Regions from separate parts of the Homo sapiens genome. Here region 1 is linked to region 2. Evidence: promoter capture Hi-C in 16 types of primary human blood cells and fetal thymus (Javierre and others, 2016). All regions are on one chromosome and are shown on one strand. Each heading gives the region's core, a stretch centred on a gene start or on the middle of the fragment in contact. The rest is flanking DNA. Distances are from core to core; before and after follow the strand shown.

Region 1 (3,135 bases), core at 51-2,550, 260 kb before region 2:
TCTAACAAGGTGAAACACCATCTCTACTAAAAGTACAAAAATTAGCCGGGCGTGGTGGCGGGTGCCTGTGGTCCCAGCTCCTTGGGAGGCTGAGGCAGGAGAATGGCATGAACCCGGGAGGCAGAGCTTGCAGTGAGCCGAGATTGCGCCACTGCCTCCGGCCTGGGCGACAGAGTGAGACTCCATCTCAAAAAAATAAATAAATAAATAAAATTTTAAAAAATAGTATTGTTTCGGTGATCTTGCTGTAAATGTGTTTGTCTGTGATGTTTTTATTATCCAAAAAGTTAAAGAAATTTAGTTAAATATATTGATGTGGTTACTTTTCTCATTTTGAATTATAATTGGGAAGCTTTTATCATTCCTAGGTTATAAAGGAATTCAGCAATGTGTTCTTTTAGTACTTGTATGATTTCATTTTTTACCTTTTTTTAATTTTAATTTATAAAGATAGAGACGGGGTGTTGCTGTGTTGCCTAGGCTGATCTTTTTTTTGGAGTCAAAGTCTTGCTGTGTTGCCCAGGCTGCAGTGCAGTGGTGCAATTTCAGCTCACCACGACCTCTGCTTCCCAGGTTCAAGTGAGTCTTGTACCTCAGCCTCCCGAGTAGCTGGGAATTCAGGCACCTGCCACCATGCCTGGTTAATTTTTTTGTGTTTTTAGTAGAGACGGGGTTTCACCATGTTGACCAGGCTGGTGTCGAACTCCTGATCTCAGGTGATCCACCCGCCTCAGCCTCCCAAAGTGCTGGGATTATAGGTGTGAGCCACTGTGCCTGGTCCCAGGCTGGTCTTGAACTCCTGGGCTCAAGTGATCTTCCTGCCTTGGCTTTGCAAAGTCCTGGGATTACTGGTATGAGTAACCATGCTCAGCCTTATTATTTATTTTTTTTTTGAGACAGTCTCACTCTGTCACCCAGGCTAGAGTGCAGTGGTACAATCTCAGCTCACTGCAAGTTCTGCCTACCGGGTTCATGCCATTCTCCTGCCTCAGCCTCCCGAGTAGCTGGGACTACAGGCGCCCACCACCACACTGGCTAATTTTTTTTTTGTATTTTTAGTAGAGACGGGGTTTCACTGTGTTAGCTAGGATGGCCTCAATCTCCTGACCTCGTGATCTGCCTGCCTCGGCCTCCCAAAGTGCTGGGATTATAGGCGTGAGCCACCGTGCCCGGCCCCAGCCTTATTTTTACATGTCACTCTCTTATCCATTTAGGATTTGCCCTGGTAGTTAGTGTGGGAAATGGCAGATCCATTTTTCTGTTTTTCCTTATGGTTATCTGGTTATTCCAGAAAAGTTTATTTAAAAGGGCTCCTTTTCTCCACTGATTGCAGCTCAGCAAATGTTAAGAATTTGATTAGGTGCAGGGTCCTAAGAATACAAACAAATACTTTATATTATTTGTCCTCAGGGGACTCACAGTCTAATGAGCTGTGTGAGTAGAGCCTTTGACTTACTTGGTGATGTCAGGAAATATTTCTGTGGAAAAGGACATTTGAATTGTGTCTTGAAAGTTGAGTGTGAGTTCTTCAGCTAAGTGGGGGAGGATGGGATTTTCAGGTAGTGGTGGCAACACATAAAAGTGTTATGGTTGGCGGAGTGCGGTGGCTCATGCCTGTAATCCCAGCACTTTGGGAGGCTGAGGAGGGCGGATCACGAGGTCAGGAGATCGAGACCATCCTGGCTAACAAGGTGAAACCCCGTCTCTACTAAGTAGCTGGGATTACAGGCACCTGCCACTGCGCCCGGCTAATTTTTGTATTTTCTAGTAGACACAGAGTTTCACCATCTTGGCCAGGCTGGTCTTGAACTCCTGACCTCATGATCCGGCCACCTCTGCTTCTCAAAGTGCTGGGATTACAGGCGTGAGCCACTGTGCCCGGCCCTTTTTTTTTTTTTTTTTTTTTTTGAGACGGAGTCTCGCTCTGTCATCCAGGCTGGAGTACAGTGGTGCGATCTCGGCTCACTGCAGCCTCCGCCTCCTGGGTTCAAGCAATTCTCATGCCTCAGCCTCCCCAGTAGCTGGGACTACAGGTGCCTGCCACCATGCCTGGCTTATTTTTGTATTTTTAGTAGAGACAAGGTTTCACCAGGTTGGCCACTCCTGGTCTTGAACTCCTGACCTCAGGTGATCTGCCCACCTCTCCCTCCCAAAGTGCTGGGATTACAGATGTGAGCCACCGCTCCCAGCTAGCTGCCTGATGTTTTTTATAACAAAAATTTAAACATACTTAAAAGTAAAAGCTTACAAGATTAGTATGAAGAACTTTTATTTTCTCTTCACTCAGAATCTACAGTTAACATTTTACCCATTTGCTTTATCATTATCATTTTCTGTGGGATGTGTGTGTGTTATGTATTTTATGTGTGAAAAATTTGAAAGTTCCATGTTCCTTTACAGCTAAAGTATTCATTTCCTGTTCTCTTACATTATGAACTGGGCTAGAATTATCAAATTAGCTATTGATTGAGGTTTTCAATAGTTTAATTCACTATAATATAGTACATATTGATTGCACTTTATTAATTGTAACATAATTTAGAGTAAAATTACAGATTACATTATATAAAGTATTTTACATAATACGATTGAAATTATATTGGGATTCTTAATTAGGAATGTATGAATCTTTTCAAAAATGGTGTTTTCAGAGAGTGTTATATGTAGGCTATTTGACTCCTGGGAACTAAACCATTATTTAGTTCCAGATTTTAAAATATTAGGGAAGAATATTTTTAGGCAGAAGCCGTAATTAAAAACAATTCCTGGTTTAGTGCCACTGGGAACCGATGTACTTGCCTTCCTCTCAAAATGGTGTTCAACACTTTCCCAGATGAAAGGGATTGATACAATCCATAATGGTATAAAACAAAATTCGATGAGATAGATAATTAACAAAGCAAAGAATGTTTCAGTGAGACATATAAATCACATACTTTAAAAAGTTTTTTCCCTGAGTAATCAGTATGGTATAAGAGTTTATGCTGGGCATGGCTCACACCTGTAATCTCAGCACTTTGGGAGGCCAAGGTGGTCAAAACTCTTGAGCCCAGGAGTTTGAAACTAGCCTGGGCAACATAGGCCCCGTCTCTACAAAGAAATACAAGAAAAATTATCTGGGTGTGGTGGTGCCTG
Region 2 (2,915 bases), core at 186-2,685:
TTTAGTGACTGTCAATAAACTTGACTTTGGTGGAATTACAGGTTTGTCCACTGATCTGAGGCTGATTGGGCTAGAACAAAACTATATACGGTATAATAGATATAAATGTTATGGAAAAAAATAAAAGCAAGGAAAAAGAAGTGTTGGGAAAGGGACAGTTTGTGATTTAAGTAAGGTGCTCAGGGAAGGCCTCACGAATAAAGTGACATCGGAGCAGAGACCTGAAGGAAGTGGGGAATTTTAAAATCAGCTTAATATCTGGGAAAAGGGGCATTCCAGGAAGAGGGAAGAGTTAGTATAAAGGCTCTGAGGACAGGCATACAGGGCGTGTTGCAACCACACTGTTTTTTAACGAAGTCTCACACTGCTGCCCAGGCTAGAGAGCAATGGCGTGATCTCGGCTTACTGCAACCTCTGCCTCCCAGGTTCAAGCGATTCTACTGGCTCAGCCTCCCGAGTGGCTGGGATGACAGGCGCCCCCCACCACGCCAGGCTAATTTTTTGTATTTTTAATAGAGAAGGGGGTTTCACTATATTGGCCAGGCTAGTCTCGAACTCCTGACCTCGTGATCCCTCCGTCTAGGCCTCCCAAAGTGCTGGCATTACAGGTGTGAGCCACCGCGCCCAGCCGCAACCACACTTTCTTAGTGAGACCCACCCTGACAACCTCTTTAATTCTGGAACCTACCCCTGCCCCCATTGGTACTCTCTAATCCCACTTTGCTTTTCTCCACACAACTTTTCAAGATATAATTCCGTGTCGGCCGGGCGTGGTGGCTCATGCCTGTAATCCCAGCACTTTGGGAGGCCGAGGCCGGCGGATCACGAGGTCGGGAGATCAAGACCATCCTGGCTAACACGGTGAAACCCCGTCTCTACTAAAAATACAAAAAATTAGCCGGGCGTGGTGGCGGGCGCCTGTAGTCCCAGCTACACTCGGGAGGCTGAGGCAGGAGAATGGCGTGAACCCAGGAGGCGGAGACTGTAGTGAGCCGAGATCGCGCCACTGCACTCCAGCCTGGGCGACAGGGCAAGACTCCGTCTCAATTAAATAATAATAATAATAATAATAATAATAATAATAATAATAAATTCCCTGTCCTTTGTTTTTGTTCATCGATGTAGCCCAAGCTCCCAGGAGTGTGGGGCATACAGAAGGCGCTTGACAGCCACGTGTGGAGAAAAGGAGCCCGGGGCTGGGCAGAGAGCGAGGCCAAGGGAAGAAGAATACTCGGTCGCGTGGAGCCTTGGGGGCCCACTGGGAGGGCTCGGGCGCCACGCAGATCTGCGCGGAATGAGCCGCCAGAGGCCGCTGGCAGTCGCACAGAGAAGCCCATCGTTTCCTACCACCTGGGACTCGACGGACGTCTACGCGCGTGCGCAGCGGTCCCATCGAGGCACCCGCCTCATTGGCTGTGGCTGGCTCGCAAAAGTGGCATTGCGCATGCGCGCTTCCTTGCGCGAGCCGGGCTGTCGGGTGTGTTTTGCTCTCCAGCCTCCGTCGTCTCTGCAGCACTCCGGGTTCTCCTCCAGAGCGCTAGTCCCAGGAGCTCGGAATGTTCGTGGAACTTAATAACCTGCTTAACACCACCCCCGACAGGGCGGAGCAGGTAAGAGGTCCCGCTGGCCGGAAGGGGGCGGGACCTGGCAGGGCAGCGGAATACTGCATCCGGGAGGCGGTGCGCACGACCCCGGGGAATGGCGCGACGACCCGGCACGGGGTACCTGGGAGTTGTAGTCCGCAGAGGATCGACCCGGGGATTGGACTGGAGGCTTGGGCCCGCCGAAAGTGGGCTTCTGGGCCATCTCGCATATTCTCAACGGCTGTGCGTGTCCTTAAAAGTCCCTGGGAAGCGGCCGGGCGCGGTGGCTCACCCCTGTAATCCCAGCAGTTTGGGAGGCCGAGGCGGGTGCATCATCTAAGGTCAAGAGTTCGAGACAAGTCTGGCCAAGATGGTGAAACCCCCGTCTCTACGAAAAATACAAAAATTAGCCGGGCGTGGTGGCTCATGCCTGTAATCTCAGCTACTCGGGAGGCTGAGACAGGAGAATTGCTTGAACCCGGGAGGCGGAGGTTGCAGTGACCCGAGATCTCGCCACCGCACTCCAGCCTGGGCGACAGAGCGGGACTCCACCTCAAAAAAAAAAAAAAAAAGTACCTGGGAAGCATGGCCGACAGTGGGGTTGGGTTATATTCGCGGACGTGAACTGTGGCGCGCTGTGCATGTTCACTGGGGTGGGGGGTCCCAGGCGCTCAGAGGAGACTGCAGAATAGGCCCGAGAGGAGAGGGGAGTTCGTTTCGCCGCCGTCTTCATGGGCGAGCTTCCTAACCGCCACCTCGCCCCGGAGCAATTGGCACATTGTATTGAACGCTGCTGTTCTTCTTACTCTTCCTCCTTGTGATCTCTAATAGAACTGTTAGAAGCAGGACAGAGCCAAATTGGCTTGGACCAAGTCCGTCTTGGGCACCCCAGGCTGGCCTGTTCTCTCCACCCTCCTCACACTCCGGGGTACCTTGAAACCTTTCACATTTTAACGTAGGAGTAACCTCTTTCAGGAGTGTATCTTTTGGCTTATTTATTTATTTATTTATTTTTGATGGAGTCTCGCTCCCTCGCCTGGGCTGGAGTGCACTGGCGCGATCTCGGCTCCCTGCAACCTCACCTCCCGGGTTCAAGTGATTCTCCTTATTCAGCCTCCCAAGTAGCTGGGATTGCAGGCGTGCGCTACCACACCGGGCTAATTACTTGGCTGATTTTTTTTTGTATTTTTTGTTAGAGACGGGGTTTCACCATGTTGGCCAGGCTGGTCTGGAACTCCTGACCTCAGGTGATCCGCCCGCCTCTGCCTCCCAAAGTGCTGGGATTACAGGCGTGAGCCACCACGCCCAGCCTGGTTTATTCATAATCTTTGT

The links. Contacts are between HindIII fragments. The CHiCAGO score rates a contact against its expected background, and 5 or more counts as called.
Region 1: a contact is called between a fragment that was not itself captured here and the fragment with the promoter of ELP6 in region 2, in 1 of 17 cell types (endothelial precursors). The highest score is 6.4, in endothelial precursors.

Annotation. Positions count from the first base shown.
Region 1 is chr3:47,767,984-47,771,118 of GRCh38, reverse strand. The region is part of intron 2 of SMARCC1 (SWI/SNF related BAF chromatin remodeling complex subunit C1); the gene reads left to right. Among named protein-coding and RNA genes, the nearest start is that of SMARCC1, 12 kb to the left of the region's middle. The HindIII fragment of the contact is 1,891 bases long and covers 355-2,245 here.
Region 2 is chr3:47,512,232-47,515,146 of GRCh38, reverse strand. ELP6 (elongator acetyltransferase complex subunit 6) reads left to right here and starts at 1,435. Exons shown (of 7, transcript NM_001031703.3): 1 at 1,435-1,610. The coding sequence starts at 1,557. RefSeq lists enhancers at 1,471-1,580, 1,911-2,020. The HindIII fragment of the contact is 8,136 bases long and covers 1-2,915 here.